Linked DNA regions of Homo sapiens: region 1 is linked to region 2. Evidence: promoter capture Hi-C in 16 types of primary human blood cells and fetal thymus (Javierre and others, 2016). All regions are on one chromosome and are shown on one strand. Each heading gives the region's core, a stretch centred on a gene start or on the middle of the fragment in contact. The rest is flanking DNA. Distances are from core to core; before and after follow the strand shown.

Region 1 (5,858 bases), core at 2,909-5,408, 340 kb after region 2:
CCACACGTAGAACATTCTGTTTATCTTCCATTTTCTTTGCAAAAATAAAGTTCCTGTTTCCTACTTAAAGTGTGCCCCGGTCACTCTCTCAGCCCTGCATAGTCCACAATCATCAGTGAGCCCTTCTTCAGAGAGCCTGAGGCCAAGGCAGAGCTTGACTAAGGGGTGGGTAACTAGGCAGCTTCCCAGGGTTTGTGTGTGTGTGTGTGTCTGTGTGTGTGTGTGTGTGTGTGTCTGTGTGTGTGTGTGTGTGTGTGTGTGTGTGAAATATGAGATATAAGAAAACATCACCAGAAGTGTAGTGACACTGAGGAATATGTACTCAGCCGAGCTTGTTTGGAGGAGTGAGCTTATGTAACAGAAGAAATGGAAAGCAGATAGAAGTGAAAATATGCTATTTGATCGCAGTGTAGGTTCATAAGCAGTCTTCTAATTATAGACATACCTGTCATTGCAAATAGCTTTAGTGTTTGTCACAGATACTGCTTTTTTTTTCTTTACAATTGAGATTTGCAGAAACCCTGCATCTAGCAAGTCTGTCGGTGTCATTTTTCTAGGAGCATCTGTTCTTTGTGCCTTTTTGTCACATTTTGGAAATTCTCAAAATATTTCAACTTTTTCATTATTATTATATGTGTCATGGTGATCTATGATCAGTGACCTTTGAAGCAATGACTGTAATTGCTTTGGGGGCACTATGAACTGCATTCATATAACACACCAATCTTAATCAGTAAGTGTTGTGTGTGTTCTGACTGCCCCACCTATTGGCCATTCTCCTGTCTGTGTCTCCTGGGGTATTCCTATTCCTTGAGACACAACAGTATTGAAATTAGGCCAGTTTATAACCCTACAATGGTCTCTAGGCATTCAAGTGAAGTGAAGAGTCACAAATCTCTCATTTTAAATAAAAGCTAGAAATAATTAAGCTGAATGAGAAAGGCATGTGGAAAGCCAAGCTATGCCTTTTGGTCCAGTTAGCTAAGTTGTGATTGCAAATGAAAAGTTCTTGTAGGAAATTAAAAGTGCTACTCCAGTGAACACAAAAGTGTAAGAAAGCAAAACCGCCTTATTGCTGATATTGTAAAAAAAAAATTAGTGGTCTAGATAATAGATCAAACCAGCCACAAGATTTCCTTAAGCCAAAACCTATTCCAGAGCAAAGCTCTAACTCTCTTCAATTCCATGAAGGCTGAGAAATGTGAGGAAGCTGCTGAAGAAAAGTTGGAAGCTAACAGAGGTTGGTTCATGATGTTTAAAGAAAGAAGCCATCTTCAAAACCTAAAGTGCAAGGTGAAGCAGCAAGGGCTGATGCAGAAACTGCAGCAAGTGATCCAGAAGATGTAGCTAAGATAATTGATAAAAGTGAATACACTAAGCAACAGATTTTTAATGTAGGTGAAACAGCCTTATATTGGAAGAAGATGCCATCTGGGACATTGATAGCTAGAGAGGAGAAATCAATGCCTGGCTTCAAAGTTTCAAAGAAAGGCTGATTCTTGTGGTAGGGACTAATGCAGCTATTGACATTAAGTCTAAGTCAATCATCATTTATAATTCCAAAAATCCTAGGGTCCTTAAGAATTATGCTAAATCTACTATGCCTGTGCTCTATAAAGTGGAACAACAAAGCCTGGATGGCAGCACATGTGTTTACAGCATGGTTTACTGAATATTTTAAACCCACTTTTGAGGCCTACTGCTCAGAACAAAGGATAACTTTCAAAATATTACTGTTCATTCACAATGCACCTATTCAGCAAAGAGCTCTGATAGAGATGTACAAGATTAATCTTGTTTTCATGCCTGCTAAGACAACATCTGTTATGAAGTCCATGAATCAAGAAGTAATTTGTTTTTTTGTTTTTTTTTGTTTGTTTTTGTTTTTGTTTTTTTCTTGAGACAGAGACTCGCACTGTTGCCCAGGCTGGAGTGCAGTGGTGCGATCTTGGCTCACTGCAAGCTCCACCTCCTGGGCTCACGCCATTCTCCTGCCTCAGCCTCCTGAGTAGCTGGGACTACAGGCGCCCGCCACCATGCCTAGCTAATTTTTTGTTCTTTTAGTAGAGATGGGGTTTCACCATGTTAGCCAGGATGGTCTCAATCTCCTGACCTGATCTGCCCACCTCGGCCTCCCAAAGTGCTGGGATTACAGGCGTGAGCCACCAAGCCTGGCCATAATTTCAGTTTTTAAGCATCATTATTATATAAGAAAAACATTTTGTAAGGCTATAGCTACCATAGACAGTGATTCCTCTGATGTGTCTGAGCTAAATCAATTGAAAACCTTCTAGAAAGGATGCCCCATTCTAGATACCATTAAGAAAATTCATGATTCATAGGACAATGTCAAAATATCAACATAAACAAGAGTTTGGAAGAAGTTGATTCCAACCCTCATGGATGACTTTGAGGGATTCAAGACTTCAGCGGAGAAAGTAACTGTATATGTGATGGACATAGGAAGAGAAATACAAGTGGAGTCAGAAGATGGGACTGAATTGCTGCAATCTTATGACAAAATTTGAATGGATGTGGAGCTGCTTCTTATGGATGAACAAAGAAAGTGGTTTCTTGACATGGAATCTACTCCTGTGAAGATACTGTGATCATTATTGAATGACAACAAAGGATTTAAAATATTACATGAACTTTGTGATAAAGCAGCGGCAAGGTTTGAGAGGATTGACTCAAATTTTGAAAGCAGTTCCACTGTAAGTAAAATGTTATCAAACAGCATCACATGCTACAGAGAAATCTTTTGTGAAAGGAAGTGTCAATCAATGCAGCAAATGTCATTGTTGTCTTATTTCAGAAAATTGTCACAACTACCCCACCTTCGGCAGCCACCACCCTGATCAATCAGTGACCATCAAGACAAGACCCTGCATCCGCAAAAATATTATAACTCAATGAAGGCTCACATTATGGTGTATTTTTAATTAAGATATCCTCATTATTTCTTAAATTTAATGCTATTGCACACTTAATAGACTGTAGTATAGTGTGAACATAACTTTCACATGCACCGAGAAGACAAAAAATTCGTTTGACTTGGTTTATTGCAATATTTGCTTTATTGCAGTGGTCTGGAACTGAACTCACAGTATCTTCGAAATATGCCTGTAGAGTAAATCCAGTTAACTGTAGAATTTTATTTTGCAAGCTGGTGAAACATCCTTTTGTTTAAACCTTCTCCTATTACAGAGCTCAATCTCTCTTCTCAATCTGTGTTGAATATATATTTGCACAATACCAGATTGAAATTACCCGTAAAATGAGTTTGTCCAGATGCCTATGTGTCTCTGTCTAGTCTGGCCGATTACCTGGTGGTTAAGAGCATAGACTCTGAACCAAACTTCTGGGGTTTGAATTCCAGTCCTGCCACTTAGTAGCTGTGTGAACCTCTCTGAGCCTGAGATTACTAAAATGATAATAATAATGTCTTCCTTGAAGAGCTGTTGTGAGTTAAACAGGTTAATATATGTAACATGCTAACAGCAGAGACTGTCCTAAAATGAAGCCTGTATTTGTCGTTGTTGCTGCTGGTGTTTTGCTGTGAAAAGTGAGTCTGGGTTGCCAGAAAGTCTAGACTAGGAAGCTGAACCAATGTCTCATTTCCATTTGGACTTACTCAACAATCATACCCACCACAGGAGGCCACAGCTGAAGGCCATCACCCTTGTTGCTTTTCTTGCTTGCCAGGGGCCAAGAACAGGTGAGAGCTGAGAATACATTTTTAGAACACCCACAGCCCTCAAGATCTAACCAGAATATCTGTTTTCTTTCCAAGCTTAATCCTCTGGCCATGATAGGGCCTATGACTCAGGAAAATGTTGGGGAAATAGCTCAAGTACCAACAGGGAAATAAAGACAACTTTCCCTAGTGTCAAACTGAGAAGAGTCTATGTAGAGAAAATTCCAGACCCAGATTGGGCTGAGATTCGATAACAGAGTGGCTCTGCATGTTATACAGCTATCTGCTCCTCCCTATGCCACTGCACATGCCACAGACTGGCCTTTGCCTATCTCCTGTACTAGAAAAATAACTGGTTGGGTGGCCATTCTGCCTATAGCTTACCCCAACCAAAAAGAAAAAAAAAAAACCTTCCATACTGCAACAGTAACCATTTAGGATTCTTTTTCAATCAACTTTAAAATTGTAAAAATAGTTTGGAAACTATGGGGATATAGAAAGAATAGATTAATAATCATCCCCACATATCCTGCCACCCAGATAGTACTATTGACACCCCTGCTTATTGGTACCAGAGCACACCTTTCATCCTACTGCCTTCAGGCACAAACTCATGCTATCTTTGGGCCTTGAAAACCTTCCTCCCTTTTAATTTTAATTAAATAAAAATTTACTGCCTCCAATTAGTCAAAGCTCATTGAGGGCAGAAATCAAGACCTATTAAACTGTCTCTGTCACCCAGCTCTAGCACAGACCTGAGTACAGAGCCAAGGAGAAGATATGCTGATTGGTCAACTGGTTGCCATGAATCCCTTCAAAAGCTTCTCTCCAGTAACATACAGTGGACCCATATATGGAAGACGCTCATACTAATTGTTAGTGTTTTGCTGTTGGGGCAAAAAAAATAGAAAGATATAAAGGAATGTGGACATTTCTATGGTTAAGAATGCCAATTAAACACTCTAACCCCACAACCACATCATAAGATGTCACCTAGACATGGGGTTTTTGTCAGTATCATCACCTTTGTCATGTTAAATATCATCAACGTAAGGGGGAAGCTCTTTAAATAGTAAATATATTTCTAAAATTTTTTTGGGGGGGAGGCACAACAAAAGCTCATCCATTTATTCATTGACCAGTTATTTATTGAGTGCCAAATTTATGCCAGAAACTATTAAGTGATTTCTTAGTCTATTTTCTGCTGCCATGACAGAGTACCAAACACTAGTTAATTTTTTTTATGTCTCACTTGTAAGTGGGAGCTAAACAATGAGAACACACGGATGCAAAGAGGGCAACAACAGACACCAGAGCCTACTTGAGGATGGAGACTGGGAGAAGAGAGAGAATCAAAAAAAGTACCTCTCAGCTACTATACTTATCACCTGGGTGACTAAATAATCTGTACACCAAACCCCCACAACATGCAATTTGGCTATATAACAATCCTGCACATGTACTCCTAAACCTAAAATAAAAGTTAGGAAAAAAAAGACTGGATAATTTAAACACAATAGTTTATTTGGCTTACAGTTCTGGAGGCTGGGAAGTCCAAGAGCATGGTGCTAGTATCTGGTAAGGGTTATTCTGTGGCAGAAGGCAGAAGGCAGAAGGCCAAGTGAATATATGAGACAGAGAGAAAATGGGGACTGAATTTATTCCTTTATCAGGAACCCACTCCTGCAACAACTAGCCCACTCCCATGACAACAGCACTAATCCACTCATGATGGTGGAGCCCTCATGGCCCAATCACCTCTGAAAGGCCCAAATTTTCAACACTGTTACAATGGCAACCAAATTGCAACATGAGTGTTGGAGGGGACATTTAAACTATAGCAGAAAAACAAAACAATTTTAGTCTCTATCCTCATGGAGGTAATAAACTCATGGCTAAAGCAGCCAATTATGCAAGAAATTACTACAAAATGTGGACTGTGGGAGTATATAGTAAGATAACCCAAGATAGTCTATGTAGGACTGAAGGGAGCTGGTTAATAAGAGTACCTTCTCAATGATAACAGCCTACACCACCTCTCTGCTGCCCAAGACCCATCACAGACACGAGGCAGACTTTCACTGCCATTGAGACAAACACTAAGAATGGGTAACATGATGACACAAATGATGCCAAGGACTTCCAAGAATACAGAGCAATA
Region 2 (6,376 bases), core at 1-2,500:
TGCATGGTTCCTGGGGTGGAGGCTGGCAAGGTTGTTTCACCTGCTGCTGCTGAGGCTGAGGGGGTGGGGTGCAAGGCTGCTTCTGCTGCTGAGAATTCATGCTTCAAATGTGTTTTTTTCTAGAGACAGAAAGCTGACACAGTGATTCAATTAAAGAAAGATGGATACAAATTCAATGCCAAACAGATTTTATTTCAGGACCCTTTAGAAGAGAAAGCCTTTCATCTCCCTTAACTCCCCCATTACATTTAAAAATGAAATAAGCTTGGATAATTTTCAGGCCCTTTGAAGAGGAGGAGCTAAAAGGCAATTTCTTCTGCTCCATTTTATTGGAGTTCTCTTCTTGGCTCCCTTCCTACCCAAGGCAACTTATATCTGTTCTGGAAAAATGCCCTACTAAAGCTGGCTTCTGAGGGACATGAGGTCCGCATATTAGGTCTTTTGGAAAATGGCATCAGACCACTTTCCTCTCCTAGTACCATGTAGAAAGCCTGTGACTTATAGGATGGCTTTATATTCATCTAAGCCTCTATGGTTTTGCTTCTGGTCTGTGCTTACACAGTCCCTTCCAAATGCTTTTCTTCCCATCTCTGCTTGTCCAAATACCCCTCCATCATAGCTCACATCACTTGACACCCCTAGGAGGGTCTCCTTGAGCAAGGTCTCCCAAAAGTGCACAGCCCTTCTCTGCCCATCTCCGTCATGCCAATTACTATCTACTTTGCATTTCATTTATTTATATATATGTATTACCTTCCTGCTAGGTTTTATGTTTGTTAAGTAAGTACGTTAGGCATTGATTTGTCCAAAGTGCCTAGCATACTGCCTTAAATGGAATAAATGCTCAGTAGAGATCCATCTAATAAATTAAAATTTCTATAAATATCTTGTCAGGGGGAAATTGCAGTGTTACTGAGAGTGCTCTGGGCCTGAGTTCTAGTTCTGCTATGAACTTCCCATGGGCATTTGAACAATCTTCTCCAGGACTCCCAGTTCAATGACTATCTACTGAGGTGGGAGCCCTAACCATCTCTAAGGTCCTTTCAAATCCAGACTGTAATTTAACTTAAAATAAAGATATTCCACTATTCTCTATCTCCCATTGAAACCCTGGATTAACCTGCTTACACATATTTGCCTTTAGCTAATTTCTAATAATGAAAAAGTACACTAGAATTGCCAGTTTGTTGCAATCAGAGACTTACCTGGTATACGGAGCAGAATGGGCTGTGTGGTCCCTTGGGTTTGGTGTGAAGGCAATGGCCAGCTGGCTTTTATAAGATGAATGAGCCCTGCCTCAAGGAAATAGAAGCTCTCGGGCACTCTGTTTTCATTCCTCACCTGTCACACATGACTCACACTACCATCCTCATCACCGGTTGGCTCAGCTTTTTTGATGAACACCACCTGATATTTTTTGGCACTGGCTGGCTGAAAATGATGTCACTGGCCTAATTTTCACTGCCACCCTCATCCTCAGACCCAGGTGCAGGGCTTGCCTTGAGGGAGGGGTGAGCAGCAGGCTTCATGGAGGGTTTCATGAGTTAACCCTGGGGGGACATCTGAGTCCTGTTGAGGCCTTGCCACCTGCTGTCCTTGTCATTGAGATGGTTGTTCCCCGTGTTCTGTGGGACAGGGCACTCTTGCACACATGAATAGGTGGGAAAGGGAGGGGGAGCAGAGGAGCTGAGGTGGGCCCTCCTTGTCTGCCTTGGTGAAGGTGGAAGCTAGAAATAATGAAATGGACTGATTATAGACCCCTTGTCTCAGAGTCCAAGACCCTTCCATCCATTTCCCCCATCTTTTTCCCAATTCCATTAAACTACACACATTCAGAATAATTTACTTATGACTCTCCCACTCTCACCTTCCTCCCCCTGACTGGTTGCTAATCTGGGAAAACCTGCTTTCCTTCACCAACCACACCTTTACCCTTCTCCTACTTCAGGGACTTTCAGGGGCTAATCCTTCTTCTGGGATCACTTTTTCCCTTCACTCCACCCAGACATCTGGCCCTGGCCTTTTCCTCCTTTCTGATCAGGCTAGACTGCCCCCCACCTGAAAACCCAAAAGCCTTTTCTACCTGCCTCCCTGCAGCCCATCCATGGGGTCCTCAATGCTGAATCCTTCTCCACTTTTGCCCACTGCCAGCTCCAGCCCCAATACCTAGAGATCCTGCTGGCTGCAAGGTTTTCCTCCTCCTTCTGGGTCTGTATCTCCTGGGGGCTTTCCGAGGGTCAGAGCTGTTCCTGCTTAAAGCAACGGTGTCCCCACCACAGTGTTTATTTCCTCATTTATTCAACAAATCTCAGTGGGGAGCCTAACATATGCCCATCATGCCTGTCATTCTAGGAGCTCTCTGATGAGGAAGCCCACTTTTCCTCTACAGATCATGAACTCCCCAGGGTAAGAGACAGAGCACAGTTGAGAGCCACTGAGATTATGGATCTCAGAGAGCCTTTAGTTCACACTCCTCAAGGGATGATTGGGGAATCTGAGGCCACCAGAGGTGAAATAACTCACCAAGGTCAAAAAAACAAACCCTAGGAAGAAAAGAATTTTACACAGAAATCCTGTGTTCTCCTTTGTTTTAATTCCTTGTGACTCCCTAATGTCTATGGAGGAAATTAAGCCCAGGCAGAAAATTGATTAGAGGTGGAAAGGGGAGCCCTTCCTGACTGAGAGCTGGGTCACTTGTAGTTCTGGAAAGTTTTAGGAGTGACAGCGTGAGGACACAGAAAGAGCCTTGCCTTGTGGGTAAGCCTTAATCGGTGCTAAGATAAATCCCTTTAAGTAGAAATAAAGATGCTTAATATTTGAGTGGCTCTAAACAGTGGGTGTTTCTAGCTCTGCTAAAGTAAGAAGGGCATGAATTAGAATAGGTGGAAATAAGGTTCAGTTTATCATTACTCAGGGCACCAGGGTCGGAGAAAGGAAGGGAAAAGCCAAAACTAAAATGTCTGCTTCTATCCTGAGTTGCTTTCGCTCTAGGGGAGCTCTCAGAGTGACATCGTGACACAGCTGAGGTGAAGGCACTGGGGGAGGCAGTAGGTGATAAGCCCCTGAGCACCTGCACATGCTTGCCTTCACTCCACGATGGTCAGATTCTGCCCTGCCAAGGAACTTCTCTTTCCTGGGGACACAAGAACAGGGGTTCCCTCAATCTTTCCATAGGCAATTGCCATAAAACTGAGGTCTCTGATTCAGAGCTGCACTCAAAACACAAACTGTTACTAGGTGTGGCCTTTGGAAAATCCAAATCATCCTTAAAACTCAGGTGTTCAGATGGTTCCTCCTCCTCATCTAACCCCTCCTTTACCCAAACACACACCTAAATGTTTGTGGAGCACCTGCTGGCTCCACAGCCAGTGAACCTGAGGCCAAGGTCAGCCTCCCACTGTGTCCATGCAGCCATTGGTCCCTATCCATCTCCATCCTCACACAGTGCCTGGCGTGCAGAAGCTGCTTGGTGACTGGCATTTATAGACCGACTGCCTGGCTGGCTGGCTGGCTGGCTGACTGAATGAATGAATGACTGAATGGCGTTATTTGTAAAGACAGGCTGAGAGTCTACTTTGAAACCTGCCTAGAAGCTCCGGTACACAGTGTACCTGCTGCCCTCCCCACCCACCTGCCTCACTGTCAAACAGTTTAATGCCCCACCTTGCTCCGGGCTGGTGCCAGCCCCACCAGGACACCTGAGCTCCAAGACTCTTGCCTCACTTAGCTCTCCTCTAGGTTTGTGCCCAGGTCCCCTTCTTCACCAAGTCCCCACCCAGGAGCCCTGACAGCAGGGGCTGCTGGAACCTGTTGCTATGTCTGGTAGGATTCTCAGCCCTGCAGGAACCTGCTGCCTAGTTGTCTGTCCTCTGGTGTCACCCAGCTTGTCTCAGGCCCTGGATGATCTGAAGCCACCTCTGAAGCTGGTGTGTTCTCATGCCCTCCCTGGACCTTAGCCCTGGATGCAAAGGAATTTCCTTCTCCCTGGTTATCAGCTCCTTACTGGACAGTCCTGCGTGCCTCAACATGTGCTTCCTTCACCCCACCCAAGCCTGCTTGGGCTCCAGACTCTGGAACTTTCTCTTGGTCTCTGACATTCTTCTCTCTGTGTATTTGAAGCTTCCACAGTGACTTGTGTTAATCGTTAATCTTCCCTCAGAAGAAACTTTGTTTCTCTGCCACTGGGGTTGGGTTAGCTATTGAATCAGGCCCCACAAACTCCCACATAAAGACAAGGGGAAACTGGGTGGCTTCCGACAGTAAGAACAGCACCCCAGATTTCTCAGCCTTGCAGAAAAGCCCCACCTAGGACACAGGAGCTGCTGCTCTTCTGACATCGAAAACTGGCTCTCATTTGTCCCTGGAACTTCCATTGACTCTGAGCAGTGCCTCAGGTTCATCAGTCATTTCCAGAGCAAGGAAGATTGATGGCCCTAAGTCTAATCAGTGATCAGGCTTTTCCCAGCATAGATTACTCTCTCCCCCACACTTCCCTAAAGCCCAGACCCTGCAAAGAAGGTCATGCAGAATTTGAACTCCAGGCCTTTTCCTGTGGGGATTGCATATTTAAAGCATGGTAACATTTAGAAACATGCAGTATTAACAGGTTTACCCCCTCCCTTTCTCTGATCACCTTGAGAAGCTAGGGAGACCCCCAGAGTGTCAGCTGCTCAATTCAGGCCATGATAATTTTTAAAAAGTCTCTATAACACACAAGCTCTTCATCTGAGAAAGGGCAGGAAAAGGAGAAACACCAGATCCCAGGTGTTAGGAGCCTCCTGAACACTTTGGCCCAGCAGGGAGGAAAAGTTAAGTTTGCAAATGTGGGTGCAGAGGTGGAGGGAGGACATGAAATCATAGCACCAGAGAAACTCTACTCAGCCCCTCATCCAATAGAGAGGGAATGAACTGCTGTGGTGGGGGAAGGAACTCGCTCCAGGCTTCACAGCCTCTTTAGTGACAGAATCAGACCCAAACCTGGGATGCTCAATTCCCTTTCCTTTCTACCATCTCTTTAAGAACAGAGCATGCCCCTCACCCTCACTCTTTTTATTTCTGGTCCTTGAAGGGATGGATAAAAAATTAAACCTGGCTTCTCTTGCTTGAGGTATATAGAAATAAAAGCACCCAGGCTTAATGTCTTGCCCAGTTGTTTCAAAGCCTTGCTATGCCCTTATTAGTTGGATGACCTTGAGCAAGTTGCCTAACCTTTCTGCATGCTACTGTCCTTATCTTTAAAAGGAGAACTTTAAATTCTACTTCACAAAGTTGCTATAAAGATTAAACGCAATGATGCTTCTAACACTTTAAGATGAATGAGCTAAATACGTCTAGCGTAATAATTCTTGCTAGCTTGTCTCATTCTTTCCTCTCCTTCCACTTGAAATCAGTTGAAACTTTTTCCTTTTGACTGTGAGTTTCCTTTTTTCCTTCTCACTCTGTGTGTGTGTGTGTGTGTGTGTGTGTGTGTGTGAGAGAGAGAGAGAGAGAGAGAGAGAGAAAGAGAGAGAGAACAGGGAGAGAGCGCCCAAGGACAGGGCATACTTCTTCAATGGAGCAACATTCTTGGCCTTTGTGATTGCTTTATCTCCCCTCATTTTTTTACACTCGATTTCAGGTTTACATATTTACCAAATTATATCTTGAGCTATTGAACAGTGACAATGACTGCACAGTTCATGTTTTATAGGAGTTGGGGCATGGGAGGAGGCTAAAATTATTGGTGATTATACAAAAACCTGGACACACCTTAGATAAGGAAATTGAGGCAGAAAAACTTTGAGTGACTCTCCCAACATGTCATGAAGGTCTGATGTGCCAGGGTACAGTCCCTTGAGAACTTTGTTGTATTGCTTCTCAAGACTAGTGGAACACTCTATAAATCAGAGGGTGACTCTTAGAAGAGACACTGACTGGATCCCTATAGTCTCACACATCTGAGCTGATCGACTGCCTATCTTCCACCAGAAGTAGAGCTTCTCTGGGTATGGATGATCAAAAGACACAGACGTATTTTAAAATGAAAAGTATTGGAATCTGGGATGATTCAGACGGATGTGCTATCCCTCCTATCAATCATTGCCTCCTGGGCTGTAGAGGGGGGCAAAGGAACAAGTTCATGGCTAAAAATTTTCTGCAGAGAATCTAAACCCTGTGTAGTTGCCGGTCCCTTCTGTTTGCTCAGCTATGCCTGCTTTGTCCCTGGTCCACCTCTGAAAGCACCTTCTCCAGAGTGCAGAGTGATCTCCACAGATTACAGGTTTGGAAACATGAAGTCCTGGATTCAAATCCTGACTCTACTACTTACTAGCTATGTGTGTGATATCAGGAACGTTTTCTAATAATAAAAATAGCTACCATTTTATTAGCTTCTGCA

The links. Contacts are between HindIII fragments. The CHiCAGO score rates a contact against its expected background, and 5 or more counts as called.
Region 1: a fragment that was not itself captured here is called in contact with the fragment with the promoter of SPRR1A in region 2 in 1 of 17 cell types (naive CD8 T cells); the score reaches 5.6 in naive CD8 T cells.

Annotation. Positions count from the first base shown.
Region 1 is chr1:152,638,423-152,644,280 of GRCh38, reverse strand. No RefSeq gene overlaps it. Among named protein-coding and RNA genes, the nearest start is that of LINC00302, 14 kb to the left of the region's middle. The HindIII fragment of the contact is 725 bases long and covers 3,796-4,520 here.
Region 2 is chr1:152,978,955-152,985,330 of GRCh38, reverse strand. It overlaps SPRR1A (small proline rich protein 1A), which reads right to left and starts at 1,250. Exons shown (of 2, transcript NM_005987.4): 1 at 1,206-1,250; 2 at 1-119. The coding sequence starts at 100. The HindIII fragment of the contact is 3,855 bases long and covers 267-4,121 here.